Linked DNA regions of Homo sapiens: region 2 is linked to region 1. Evidence: promoter capture Hi-C in 16 types of primary human blood cells and fetal thymus (Javierre and others, 2016). All regions are on one chromosome and are shown on one strand. The core of a region is centred on a gene start or on the middle of the fragment in contact, and the rest is flanking DNA. Distances in the headings are between cores, read along the strand shown. Region 1 holds the start of SLC1A7 (solute carrier family 1 member 7). Region 2 overlaps ECHDC2 (enoyl-CoA hydratase domain containing 2).

What was found. Contacts are between HindIII fragments. The CHiCAGO score rates a contact against its expected background, and 5 or more counts as called.
Region 2: a contact is called between a fragment that was not itself captured here and the fragment with the promoter of SLC1A7 in region 1, in 1 of 17 cell types (endothelial precursors). The highest score is 5.2, in endothelial precursors.

The regions. Positions count from the first base shown.
Region 1 is chr1:53,138,525-53,145,956 of GRCh38, reverse strand. It overlaps SLC1A7 (solute carrier family 1 member 7), which reads left to right and starts at 3,319. Exons shown (of 11, transcript NM_006671.6): 1 at 3,319-3,642. The coding sequence starts at 3,508. The HindIII fragment of the contact is 4,621 bases long and covers 1,289-5,909 here.
Region 2 is chr1:52,895,570-52,903,001 of GRCh38, reverse strand. It overlaps ECHDC2 (enoyl-CoA hydratase domain containing 2), which reads left to right. Exons shown (of 10, transcript NM_001198961.2): 8 at 3,778-3,828; 9 at 5,518-5,565; 10 at 6,405-7,092. The coding sequence ends at 6,482. Among named protein-coding and RNA genes, the nearest start is that of ECHDC2, 22 kb to the left of the region's middle. The HindIII fragment of the contact is 5,360 bases long and covers 980-6,339 here.

The sequences.
Region 1 (7,432 bases), core at 2,070-4,569:
AGCATAACCCAAGCAGAGGGCCCGGTGAAGAACAGCTCAACTGCACACCTGCTTCTGCAGGGTGAGGCAGCTGCACCTGTGACTTGGCGTTCATTTTCGCCAACACCATGTCTCTTCTTTGCCATAGCATCTCAGTCTGTCCAGCTCAAGCCTCCCCAGAAGCATCTCTGAGGCCGCCTGCTGCCCATTATACAACACCTTGCTCCTCAGGCTATCCCTAGCACCCCGCTGCCCCTGCCAATATACCCTCCAACTTTGAGGATTCTCCATTGAGGTGATTTCAAATGACATGGTAACAAACAGAGATTTGATTTTATTTTCATAGATTCTTATTTCCTTGTCAGAGCCACTTAAAAGGGAGCTAGGTGAATCCCCAGCTGGTGACTGTGAAGGGCCTGAGTTAGAGTGAGAAAAAGAGAAGGTATTGTATCTAGGGTAATCAGGGAAGGCTTCGAAGAAGAGGGGGATTTAACCTGTAACTTTCGTGACAAGGAAGGACATTCTAGGCCAAGGAAATAGCACAGGCAAAGGTGCAGAAGCCTGAGACAGGATGCAGCGTTCCAGGACCCTGCAGTGGTTTGGTGTCATAGGAGCTGGAGGGGTGACGGAAGGAGTAGGAGGTAATGCTGAAAGGGTGAGGAAAAGGGTGAAAGTGCCTTGCAGGGGAGCATAGACTCGATGCTGCAGACCGGGGTTTCCCAGGCGTGTTCTCCAAACACCAGGCCCAGGGAGTTCTCTGCTCCAGAGGAGGGGTGGGATTCTCTATTCTCCACTTGGTGACTTCCTCCGACACAGCCGCTACTGTAAAGACTTTCATAGTAACTACCTGGGGCTATCTGCAAGGCACTGGGCCACGCTCTAACCATGGCGCATGCAGCACTGTATGACCCACATCAAAACCCTATGATCTAGGTACTGTTGCATTATCCCCATTTTACAGGGAAGTTAAGAAATGTTCCCAAGGTCACACAGCTGGTTGAAGGTAGAGCTGAGGTTTTAACTCTAGCAGTCTGACTTTGAGCTGTCTCAGAGGAAATAACGTGCTTAACTTTTTGTTTCGTCCAGCATTTCCCAAACTTCCTTTTGATGTAATTATGGAAAAATTGTCTTGCACATCTAGTGACATTGTAAAAGGCAGTTGATTCTTTGTCAATGGTGAACTATTATAGGGTTCTGACCCAGGAGACTTGATTTGATTTGCAAATATTCTTAGTAAACTCATTATCAGTCACTTACACTTTAGTGTGAATTAGTCCGTTCTTGGGGTCTCTCCACTTTCTTATAAGCTTCCTGAAGGCAGGGCAGGTACTGTCTGATTCACTGTTGTGTTTCTAGTACCCAGGGGGTGTGGCACACTAAATGGTGCTATAAGAACATTTGCTAGAGTGAGTTGAAATTCTCCTGTTGAAGACCGTAGGAACAGTGGAAAGAATGGCTGTAGTCTGGTAGGCAGGTAGTGGTAGGCTCAGCCTGTGGGAGAGAGGAGTCAGTGGTGGCTATAGGGCACGTCCTGGGAATGGGAGTCATGGAGCTGTGGTAGAAAGCAAGACTCACCTATATCATGGCACAGCTAAAGGCCAGGTCTGGGCTGGGTGTGGTGGCTCATGCCTGCAGTCCCAACACGTTAGGAGGCCAAGATGGGAGGATTGTTTGAGCCCAGGAGTTGATCAAAACCCAAATCCAAATACCTACTTAGCATATTTTCTCTTCTGGGAAGTAACTAACCACCTGATTATTTGGAAAATGAGGCATTTGTTGGAGTTGAAGGTGTAGCAAGAAACTTTTGGTTTTAAGAGTCAAAGTCAGAGGAAAAAAAACTCTCAGACTTGTATTCACCCCCACCCCCCACCCCAAGCTACTGCAAAGAGCAGGGGCTTTGGAAGATTGGTTTGTTGAAATGAAGTTCCTTTGACAAAGGTACCTGGGCCCATTTCTCTCATTCTAAAAAGGACAAGACTGATACCCAGAGACGGCAAGGTCACAGAGCTGATTAAATTGGGATCAGAATCTTCTCAGTCAGGAGCTCTGTCCATGGCTTCAGAGCCTGTGCCCCAGTCCCCTCTCCCCACCTCTCCCCTATGCCCCACTTGGCCCGTCCTCTTCATCCTCTGCCCCTGTCTCCTATGTCAGGAGGAGGAAGCCCCTGTGTGCACCCCACCCTTTACCTCCCACCCTCACTGCAGACTGCACTTCCCATTCCCTGCTGCCTGCTGCCTGACTGCTCCTAATGAGATTACAGATCTCTGGTGAAATAGACGAGGGTTAATTCCCCCAGGCTTTACAGGGCAGGGCAGGCCAGGCCACAAGAAATAGCAAAAAGACACCTATTCTCCAAAGCACTAAGTGTGATAATGACCCTAAGAGTCCGTTCCCCTGTTCAGCACACCAGGGTTCACACTGCGTTTCCAAATACCCTCTGGGTGGAATTTTGTACCAGCCCTAACAAAGTAGATGCTGTTATCATCTCTATTTTACAGATGGAGAAACTGAGGCACAGTGAGATGAAATGCTTGTCTGAGGTCACACAGCTAGTAAGTGGCAGAGCTGGGACCCGAATGTGGGTCTCTTGGGCTCTGTCATCTTTAAAAAATAATAGGCCCAGAGAGCCTGCAGGGTGCCCAGCACCAGGCTTGAAACAGCCCTGAAGCATCTACGTCCCATTTCCCGGTGAGTGGCACAGCCCACCTTTGAACTCAGGTCCCCTGGACTCGAATCTACATTCCCCACAATACTGCCAAGCACCCTTGAACCTATCTGCCTGTTCATGTGGTGGAAACAGACTGGCCTAGCCCTGACTTCTGACCTCTGTGACCATGGCCAAGGGACTGGCTTCTGGGGTCTCAGCCTCCCTTTCTGAAAAATGAAGGTGGGAACCCTGGGATCTTTGGGACAATTCCCTATGATTGGCATAGCTAAGGCAGCCAGCACAGGCCTGGCCCGCAGCACATGCACCCACCCACCTCAGTTTCTTTATCTGTAAAATGGTGATATTAATAGTACTTATTTCTTGGGATTGGTGTTAGGATTAAATATGCCAGTACATGTAACACTCTTCTAGAATGGCACCTGGTGCATAGTAAATGCTTAATTAATGTTGAGGGAAACTGATATCTTACTGTCTTGTTTTTGATTCTTTCTGGAAGGAAGCAGGGGTAAAGATCAAACCAACCAAGCAAATGTTCCTCTTGTTCCTTCCAGTACCTGGTCCACTCAACTGTTTAAGAGGAACGCTTGGCTTTGAGGCCTGAACTCCTAGACCACGTGGTCTGCTCTAATTTCCCAGGCCCTAATCTGCTCCCAGCTCCTAATGATGCAGCTGGTAATAGGATTGTGGCTTCCCTCTAAGGCGGCCACACGGGCATGGCCGTGGGGCTGGCGACTGGTGTTTAGCAACTCCGACCACCTGCCTGCTGAGGGGCTAGAGCCCTCAGCCCAGACCCTGTGCCCCCGGCCGGGCTCTCATGCGTGGAATGGTGCTGTGCCCCTTGCCAGCAGGCCAGGCTCACCATGGTGCCGCATGCCATCTTGGCACGGGGGAGGGACGTGTGCAGGCGGAATGGACTCCTCATCCTGTCTGTGCTGTCTGTCATCGTGGGCTGCCTCCTCGGCTTCTTCTTGAGGACCCGGCGCCTCTCACCACAGGTCAGCCACCCAGAGCATCTCGGGACCCCTGTCCAGGAGGGGCGTGTGGGCCTGAGGGATCTGGGGTCCCGTTCTAGCATCACAGCTCCCTGGTGCCATGACAGTGTGTGAATCCCTCTGCCTCTCTGGGTCCTGGTTTTCTCATCTGTAACATGGGTGTGATAAACACTTTGCAGGACTAGAGGGAAGAACCAGTGATGTGGCTGGGGAGTGATTACAAACCCAGCACCATCAGGTGAGGAGAGGCGAGGGTGCCTCATGATGACAAACACAGGGCCAAGAGCTGTGGCGGGGAAAGAGGGGGGTCTTGTGTGAGTTCAAACAGGCACCAGAGAACACCTCCTAAAGGCTGCTCAAATGACAAGAGATCCAGGAAGCGTGCTCTAGGCAGAGGTGACAGCAGATGCCAGGTGCAGCGGCCGGAGCGCAGAGGCCAGCAGGCCCATAGGTCCCATCGCCACACGTGGGCTTGCGGCAACCATGAGATGCTTTTGGGCAGAAGAGCGACAGGCCAGTTTGGAGCTTGGGAGACCCCTCAGGTGCTGAGTGGAGAGGGGGTGATTCTGGGGCAGGCAGGGGGCCGAGAAGGGGCAGCCTGGGGGAGATGCGGCAGTGCAGACAAAAGGGACAGACGTGAGAACTGTTTTCAAAAGGGGGAGCTTCAGGATGTGGGGGCCGATTGGATGTGGGCTGGGGGACAGGAAGGGGAGCCAGGCCCCGGGTTTCCAGCCTGTGTAACTGCCATGAAGAAGCTGCGTTTCCTGGGAAAGAGCCCCTTTCCCTGTCAGCCCCCATCTCCTACAGGAGAGGGAGGGACATTCCCATGGTGTTAAGGACAAAATCATTCTGCCACTAGTTAAACTGGTAAGGAAGGCTCTATTCAGGACTATTGTGGTAGGGGGGTAGTTATCAAGACCTCCTGGGGAGAGAGATGGGACCCAACCACAAATACAACAAAGATGGCTGGAGATTTATAGCCAGCGAGCAGAGGGAGGGGGTCGGGGACAGAAAATGACTACAGGAGACATCAGGGTAGGGGGATTCTTGTTGAAGGCAGGCCAGGGTGATCAGACATTGATCTGGGATGAGGAATTTGATCCAGTATCAGGATGCTGGAGGGTGAGGGATCCTCACTAAACTGACTTGGCAGGACTTTTGCTACAGCTGGACTATGCAGGCTGAAGACAAGGCCCAAGGACAAAGCCCAGTGGAAAAGAGGGCTCAGAGGAGCCTGTCTAAAGTGTGGTCAAGGAGAGAGGCTTTGTCAATGGGCTCCTGGAAGAGTCCCTATTCCCAGAAAGTCCTCTTCCCGCAGCTCACTAATGTCTAATGCCATCTCTACAACTGGGGTCAGGCATTAGACTTTGTCTTCCATTAAAAGGAAAACACCCACTCCTGGAGAACTGAGCCACGACTATAGTGACCCTGTTAAGCCTCGAGCAGTTATTTAGGAAGAAGCATGGACTCTGGAGGCAGAGAAACCCTGAACTTTGACTCTGCTAGCAAATGGCTAGGCAATATCCTCTCTCCTCCCTGGGCCTCAGTTTCCTTGTCTGTAAAATGGGATGTGGGGCAGTATATGTCTACTAGAATTATTATGAGGAATAAACCAAGGATTCATCAATGCCCAGCATACAGTAGGTGCTTACTACGTGTTACTTCCCCCTCCCTCCCTTATGTACCTGTTAAAGTCCTATCTACATCAGGAACCATCTCATCATCCATAGCTGATGAAAGTAACTGTAACCCCGCTGCTGGCTGCCTGGCTTCAGAGCTGGTTATATGGGTGTCTCTTTCTCCCACCAAGCTGCATATTGCTGAACAACATATGGGTTTGTTTTTTTTTTTAACCAAAACGTGAGCCTAGCCCTGTGTCAGGCACAGAGAGAACGCTCAACTATCTGCTGCATTAAACTGGCAATGGAACAAAAAAATCTGCAATCTGTTCTCTTTAATTTTCCTCAGCAACAAAAATATATCTCCTGCAGGAAGATTATTTTGTGAAAACAAATTGGAATGCCTATTATTAAAAGCCAAACTCATCTGGGGCCTACTTTGCCAAAGCTGCCTTTCCCATCTGTTTGGAAATGCAAATGTATTCCAGTCTGGATTAACCTGCCAGATAAATTGAAGGAAGGATGTAGAGGCTTAGAACAATTATTTGGCAGAAACTGGCTTTCTCAGCATCTTACTTTGAAATCTGGGATTTCTCTGTTTGATCTCTTTGCCTGTGACTCAGAAACTAAACACTTCTTGTTTTGTAAGCTTATGCAACAGGCAAAAATCATAAACAATATGGAAAATGGTAGAATGTTCTATTTGTGAAAAAGAACTTTTATCCTTGATAAAATCACAGGATTTTATCTTGGTGTATGAGTGTCTCATTTAAAAATACTGAGCATTTTGAGACTTCCAGTTAAACCATGGTGAATCACAGGTGTATCCATTTTTTTCCCTCCTTCCTAGAATTCCACTAACATTTTAGTAATGGGATTTTTAAAAGGTAAAACCACCAAGAATAAAGAGAATATAAAAGGAGACAGTTGAGAAAAAGAAATAGAGAGGCTACAACAAATTAGATAATATGGAGGTGGGTGGAGCTGATGACCTCATTCACAGAAAGCTGGAATCTTAGTCTGTGGAAGTTGATACCAAGTCAGTTTGTCTTGCAGACTCCAGAACGTAACAGAGCAAGATGCTGCACTAGGCAGGGTGAGGCTGGGGTTGAAAGCCTGGGCATGGTTTGGAGTTTTGTAACCAGAGCAGTTAGACCCCTAGGGACCTTCCAATTCAGTTGGGGGACTCATCCACCCATCTCCACCCACTGCCTGCCCCAAGGAACCAGAGAAGCTGGACTTGAGGGTATTGGGCCACCCCTGTGTGTGTTGGGGAGAGGGCCATGCTGAGGCACCTACTTCAAACTAATTAACAGACATCCTTGTCTGAGTGGGGTCCCCAGCACGGTTTCAGATCGCTGTCAGCTGAGCTTAGGCACCATGTCATTCCTCAGCCAAAGGCAGGAAGAGACTTCTCTCACTGAGGCCTCAGAGAAAAGATCTCTAAATTCTGCTATAAAGGAGACTCCTCTACCATCCCACCCAGCCCCAGTGAAAAAGCCAGATCAGCACCTGTCACCCTGCCCTGAGGGCCGTCAGTTGACAAACCCTACTCATACATGCAGAAGTTTAGCGCTTCAAACTTACATACGAGCAGAAAGCCACGCCACCAGAAATGTGAGGAGGCTCCTAATGTGAAACAGAGTAAACGAAGAGAAAAGGGGGTCTCTAATGAGAGAAACAAAGAGAAAAGTGGGTCTCTAGTGAAGCAGAGACAAGGCGGGGAGGAGAAGGAAGCTTTGTAAATCTCCTCTTAAGCTTTCTGGAGCTGCGAGTGAAGATATAGTTACCGTACAACAGAGGGGATGTGAAAAGAAGGAACAATCAGAGAACAAGAAAGAATCTGGGGAAATTAAAAATAGAAGAACTAAGATAAAAATGTGAGTAGCTGCCCAACACATAGAAAGGATAAATACTCGAAGTGTTGGAGACCCTGAATACCCTGATTTGAACATTACACAGTGTATTTAACAATATACCAACTGTATCCCATAAATATGTACAAATATTATATATTAATATAAAAACTTTGGCTAGGCCTGGTGGCTCATGCCTGTAATCCTAGCACTTTGGGAGGCCAAGGCGGGTGGATTGCCTGACCCCAGGCATTCAGGGCCAGCCTGGGCAACATGGTGTGAGACCCCATCTCCAAAAAAAAAAAAAAAATTAATGTC
Region 2 (7,432 bases), core at 2,410-4,909, 240 kb after region 1:
TTAAATGGAGCTAAGTTAGACTAATTTATAATAAATTTGTCTTAGCCTATAATGCTAGGTACCTTAATGTAGTATCTCAGCTCTTAGAATAATCCAGTTGAACTGATTATCCCCATTTTATCTGTGAGAAAACCCATAAAAGTTCAGTGACTTGTTCATCAAGGTCACAAAGAGTGATTGTAGTATTAGAAAAAAAAACAACACCGGTATTTTGGCATTTATTTTGCACAATACAGAATGCAATATAAAAAAGGTATTTTAAGAGAGCAAAATATGTACAAAATTTTAAAAACAAACTAAATATTTAATGTATTTCAAATACAAAAATTTACAAATGTCACAAAACAAAGTTAACCATACATCATTTTAATATTGACATATATTGAATTAATCATATAAAAGTAACCATTTTGGCTTAGCATGGTGGCTCACGCCTGTAATCCCAGCACTTTGGGAGGCTGAGGTGGGAAGACTGCTTGAGACCAGGGGTTCTAGACCAGGCTGGGCAACATAGTGAGACCTCATTTGTATTAAAACAGAAAAGAAGCCGGGTGCAGTGGCTCATTGCTGTAATCCCAGCACTTTGGGAGGTCAAGACAGGAGGATCACTTGATGCCAGGAGTTTGAGACCAGCCTGGCCAACATGGCAAAACCCTGTCTTTACTAAAATTACAAAATTTAGCTGGGCATGGTGGCTCATGCCTTTTATTACAGCTACTCAGGAGGCTGAGGCACGAGAATCACTTGAGTCTGGGAGGTGGAGGTTGCAGTGAGCCGAGATCGCACCACTGCACTCCAGCCCAAGTGACAGAGCAAGATTCTGTTAATAAAATAAAATAGTATAATTTTGAACAAAAATCCTTTCTTTCCTGTCTCTCAAATGTAAATAATCCTAATACTTCTTAAAACAGATCTTCTTTAATTTGGAGGTGAGGGACTATAGCTTTTTGAAAGCATTTGTCTTTTTTTTTTTTAAGCTTCATCATATATAAATGAAGAGTCTGATGCTATTGCCTAGACAATATTAATGCTGTCAAGTTTCTATTATACTTGGTTAGAAAGTCTCCGAACTAATACAGAACTCTGGGTCACTCAATGGAGTGGCTGATTGCAGCTTTCATATCTAGACCTGTAGACTATAGGGTTTGTCTTTTTGCCTTAACTAAATAACAATCACAAAATAATTCAGATTTCCAAATATACTAAAATATTGGTACTATATAATTACTGATATTTTCAGTACTTAAAAGTAGCTTTGTATACCAAAACACCAGTCTACCAAAAACAAGTACTGGCATGAGTAATCCCAGAGTTGAGACCTTCTGGGTCAACCTGAAAAACAAAACTTCAACTTCCACCTATGTTACTGGGTGCTCAGAATAAAGGTTTCCGGATAGGAGAGGGCCAGGGATGGTGTAGATGGCCACCATCTAGTGGACAAACCACTCTGATAGGGTAGCAAATGGTTCCAGAGTTTTCTCAGCCCAGAAAAAAACTGTCAATATCCACAGTTTGCATCAGATTTCCTTCTTAAATAGTAAATACACATTACACTTTGAGAAATGGATTCAGCTGTGTTTTTTTTCTTTTCTTTTTAGAGACAGGATCTTGCTCTGTTGCCCAGGCTGGAGTGCAGTGGCACGATCATAGCTCACCACAGCCTTGAAGCCCTGGGCCTGAGCAGTCCTTCCACCTCAGCCTCTGAATAGCTGGGACTACAGGTGCAAGCTACTGACTTGGCTAGAATTTGGCTGTTTTCACTCACAAACATACGTACATACCGTTTTTAACTTTAATAAAAGGTTACTTTATTTATTTATTTATTTATTTATTTATTTATTTTTGAGACAGGGTCTGGCTCTTTTGCCCAGGCTGGAGTGCAGTGGCATGATCACAGCTCACTGGAGCATTGACCTCTCAGGCCCAAGTGATCCTTCCACCTAAGACTACTGAGTAGCTGAGACTACAGGTGCAAGTCACCACGCCCAGCTAATTTTTTATTTTTTGTAGAGATGGGATCTCATGATGATGCCCAGGCTGGTCTCAAACTCTTTGGGCAAGCAATCCTCCTGCCTCAGCCTCTCAAAGCCCTGTGATTACAGGCGTGAGCCACTGCACCTGGCCAAGATTACTTCCTTTATTGGGTAGTTACCTAAATAATAACACATATGGCAAGCAAATCTAAAAGAACAGAGGAGTAAGAAGGGCATAAGGTAAAAATCAAAGGCAAGATGACCAGCTAGTCCTGGTTTACCTGTGACTACCCCAGTTTTAAAAGTGGAAGTCCCATATCCCAGTAACCCTTCAGTCACAAGCAAACCCAAACAGCCCTTCATTTCCCAATCCCTCTCTCTCCCCAGATCATCACTATTGTTTCCATACTCTTCCAGAAATTTCCATTGCATATGGAAGGACGTGTATTATGCACATATGCTTACATATTTAAATAAATTCCTTTTAATGGCTTAGAGGACAAGAAATATCTTTCGAGGCTAATCTGTTTCTAACAAATTTTAAAAACAAAATTTAAATATGCATAGTAAGGAATTCAAACATGGAAGAATATAAAACAAAACCTTCATTTTATATAACAAAACATTTATAAACCTTCGTTTATAAAACAAAACAAAGGTTTGGTTTTGTTTTATAAAGGCACACCAGCATTTTGCCAGTTTTTGCCAAATTGCTCTCCTGTGGCATACTCTTTTACTTTTCTATCAATAATGTATGTAAATACTGGTTTCCCCAGTCTCGGCAGTAGTAGGCATATTGATATTTTAGTATTTGCTGGTCTGAGGTGAAAGGGCACAGTACCTCACTGTTTTGATTTGCCTTTCAAGCGTGTAGCAGCTGCTGGACATCCTTCACGTTCGTACTTCTTTTCCGGTGGACCTTTTACATACTCTTTTGTAAATGGTTTAAAAGTTACTTTATACTAACTTTTTTGTAAATCAAGGAAATTCATCTGTCATAAGCATTGCAATTCTTTTTCCCAGTTTTTTTTTTTTTTGAGACTTTTCCTGAGAAAGTTTTATAAACACTTCAAATAATATGATATAGGAAGTAATTCCTCCTTGCCTGGAAGTGGGGCTGAGACTGGAGTGCTAGGGCTGGTGTGGAACCAAGGCCAGTGACAAAGCAGACACTGTTGCTTCTATGTGGCTGTATTAAAATGCACCCGCCCCTCTGCACTGCCCCACAGACCAGGATTTCAACACAGCCCTGTCGACTTGAAAGCCCAAGTTCCTAACCCTGACTTTGTTTCACTCTGCTGGGGTAAAACCTTACCGCAGAGGCTGGCATTTGCTGAAATGAGGTCGAGGAAGTGGGAAAGGTGGTTGGGAGTCCAATCCAAGTCTCACCAATGATTGGATAAACACAGCCAAGTGCTTCACCTCCCTGCACTGCAATCTCACAGCTGTAAAATCACAGCTGGGTCATCAGTGATGACACCAGCCTAGAAGTGTGGGTAGCACCATTAGATGAGTCTGTGGGGGAGGAAAGCACTTTGTAAACTAGTTATGTTGTGCATGTTGGAAGGATGGGCTGAATAACAAGAAACCCAGGTGTTCAGGGATCAGAGTCTGGCTTCTTTCATGATAGAAAAAGAACCTCAGCTAACAGGTTATAGGACTAACGCTAAAGAAACTGTCAGCAGAATGGCTGGAACCAGACCCAGACATCTGCCTCCCTCCTTTAAAACAAAGCTGTGCACCTCAGACCTGCAACTATCAGCCTTGATGCCCTCCTCAACCAAGACTTTTTGCTTTTCCCTAGGCCCCCATTGCCGTGCGGCTGGGCAAAGTAGCCATTGACCGAGGAACGGAGGTGAGAGGGTTTTGGGTTGGGACTTGGGTCCACTAAAGTTGGTCGCGGCTGGGACACAGTGCTTTCAGAGCTCAGACAGCACAGCTGGGAAAAACTCAGGAAGTGGACTCTTCTAACAGACTTGAACTCTGACCTCGTGCTCTACGTCAGTTTACACATCTGCAAATTGGCCAGACAGTATTATTGTTTACATTCTATCCTCATCTTTCTCCCTTGGAGAGAGGATGAGATTGAGGTTAAGAAAGGGTAAATGATTTGCCCAAGGTCTCAGAGGAAGTGAGTAGAAAGAACCCGGGTCTGTGTGGCTGCCAGTCCATGCTGCAAGATTTGTGCTGGCAGTAATGTGGCCTCAGGGCAGGGCTTGGGGTGATGCCTTGGGTGTGGCTAATCCATCTGTCCACCTCAACTCTCCCATCTAGTTAATCCATCTGTCCACCTCAACTCTCCCATCTAGTCACTCATCACACACTGAATCCAGAACAAAGCTGGGAACTGGGATACAGATGGATGAGTTAAACATGGTCACTGCCCCCGGGAGGGGGCAGATACAGACACAAATCAAGGATAATGGTACCACGCTGACACCCCAGAAAGGTTAGAGCTTTGCGGTCCATTATGATATCCATGTGTGGCTTTTAAATTAAAAGTAAAATGTGGTCAGGCGCGGTGGCTCATGCCTGTAGTCCCAGCACTTTGGGAGGCTGAGGCGGGCGATCACGAGGTCAGGAGATCGAGACCATCCTGGCTAACACAGTGAAACCCCGTCTCTACTAAAAATACAAAAAATTAGCCAGGCGTGGTGGCAGGCACCTGTAGTCCCAGCTACTCAGGAGGCTGAGGCAGGCGAATCGCTTGAACCCAGGAGGCGGAGTTTGCAGTGAGCCGAGATCGCACCACTGCACTCCAGCCTGGGCGACAGAGCGAGACTCCGTCTCAAAATAAATAAATAAATAAATAAAATAAAATGTTCAGTTTCTCCTTCACGCTAATCACAGTTCACGTGCTTGACATTCACATGCGGCTAGTGGCTACCATACTGGGCAGTGCTCGGTTAAAGACTGTTTTCTACAGTTGGACTGTGGGAAGGATAAAAATTCCAGAGGAAAAGTATGGGCAAAGGCACAGAGGAGGATAAGCAAGCAGCTCGTCCAGATGAGAGTGAGGGAAGAAGAGAGAGTGCAAGTTCGAGGCACTAGGCTGTCTGGGTTCAAAGACCTGCTCTTCCACATACTGTTGTGAACTTTGACAAATTATTTCACCTTTCTATGCCTCAGGTTTCTCAGCTGTAGAATAGGGATACTAACCCTTGCTGTGAAAATTAAGTTCACACACACATGGTACTTCTCTTAGAATGAGGCTTTCAAGTGCCAGTCAGTGGGCCCTAGAGGCTGGAGCAATTGCCAGGGCCCAGGTCATAAAGGTTCAGAAATTAACGGGTGACAGGAAGCGTGGTGAGGCAGCCGGATGGGAAGGAGAACTCCTCTTCTCTGGCAAAATGTCTCAGTCTGTCTCGTTTCTCCCAGCAGTTTTGTCATAGTTACGAATGGTGTTTCTTCTCTAGGAGGGAAATTCCTTCTCATAGCTATCTCTGCTCATATAGATGTCTGTAGGCAATAGGGTGGGCTGGCTTCCAGTGTGGGTGAAGATGGACAAGGTCAGACCAATCCAGGGAGCACGTCTTTCTTGCAGGTGGACATTGCATCTGGGATGGCCATTGAAGGGATGTGCTATGCCCAGGTATGTAGCAACCAGCCCATGCCTGCTTGTTAACATAGGCTGGGCCAGGCTAGAGGGACTTTGTATGGTACATGACCAATTTTAGAAGGTTCTTCTCAACACAAACAGTCTGACCGCATCCATCGTCCCTCATAAGTCACCTGGAGTGGCTTGAGGAGAGCCATAGTGCTTCTCTCTGGGACTTTTCCCTCAACCATCTAATGTACTGGGGTTCATCCTGCCCACTTAATGCCGAGAATCACAGAACACAGGTCCTTAAGAGGAAGAACCACATCTTTTGCCTCTGTATCAGATGCCACTGTAAAGTTCAGGATGGAGTTGGGAGGTCAAGGGCTTGGTTGTAGCCTGCAGGCTGTGTTCAATGTAGGGGCTGTACACTTGGGACTGACCTATTAAATCTCTTACTCATGGGTGAGTAAAAAATGCTAATCTCCACGTTAACAGATATCCAAAATACTCCTAAGGGGTCCTGGGACTTGGAGAAACTAGTGTGAACCTGGATTCAAAGCCAGATTTCTTACTGCAAAGAATTTTTTTCTCTACTGAGCAGCCTCATGTCAGACCACTGCAGACGGCAGCTGAGTTCTCAGGAGGCATGAAAGCAGTGTGCAAGTGGAGGCTAATGCTGATGGGGCACAGAGAATACAAAGGCTGGCCTGTCTTCCCCAGGAGACAAAGCAGCCACGGAGGCTTATACCTTTGCATGCCTCAAGATCAGAGTCCAGAGACAATGGAAACACTTGGACCCTGGCCTTGTCTTGGGCTGGACAAGCTTAAGCAACTCTTTTTGGGCCTGTGGCCCTGCTCCCCCAAAACTAATATTTTGTACCTTGTTGCAGAATATTCCAACCCGGGACCGGCTAGAGGGCATGGCAGCCTTCAGGGAGAAGCGGACTCCCAAATTTGTTGGCAAATGACCCCCATTTTAACCTTCAGCATGGGAGATGCATGCCCTGAAGAGCAGGATCCAGAAGGAAGATTTGTGGCCAGATTGCCTTCATCATTTCACCTCTCCAGACTTCCATTTCTTCACAAGGATGATGATGGAAATAAAATGACTGGCGTGATGCCTGGAACCAAGGTGCTGATCCTACCACCTACTGCTACCTTCCTTAGCTTCACCCTGGCTAGAAATAATCACGAGGGTTGGGTTTGCTTTGGAAAATGCCTGTCTCTCTACTTGAATGATAAAGAATTAAATTAGATCTCTCTGAGTCTTGGTATCATTGGCTCTCAGCCCCTGACCTCTCTCAGTTATCAGGCACTCATTAGAGATGTCAGAAGATTTTAAGATACCCCTAGTTTCTTCCTGTGAACAACAGAGGTAATAAATAAACTCTGACATCGGTTGAACATGTGTCAGGGGTCAGACTGCAGATCCCAGTCTCTGCCAGTTACTTGCTGTATAACCGTGGACAAATTGTTTAAATGCTCTGGGCCTCAGCTTCCTCACCTACAAAACAAAACTTGTGAAGATTTAGCAAAATAAAAACACTTCATATTCAATAAATATGTTTTAATTGTTAACTTACAGTGTTTTCGTGAGGACCAAACGAAATCATCACTGTGAAACACTTTTGTAAACTACAGGGTGGCAGAAAATTCTTTTTATTTTTTGAGACAGGGTCTCACTCTGCCACCCAGGCTCCAGGCTAGAGTGCAGTGGCGCCATCTCAGGTCACTGCAGCCTCCACTTCCCAGGCTCAAGTGATCCTCCCACCTCAGCCTCTGGAGTAGCTGGGACTACAGGCAAATGCCACCATGCCCAGCTAATTTTTGTATTTTTTTGTAGAGACAGGATTTCGCCATATCACCCAGGCTGGTCTTGAACTATTGGGCTCAAGCAATCCGCCCGCCTGGGCCTCCC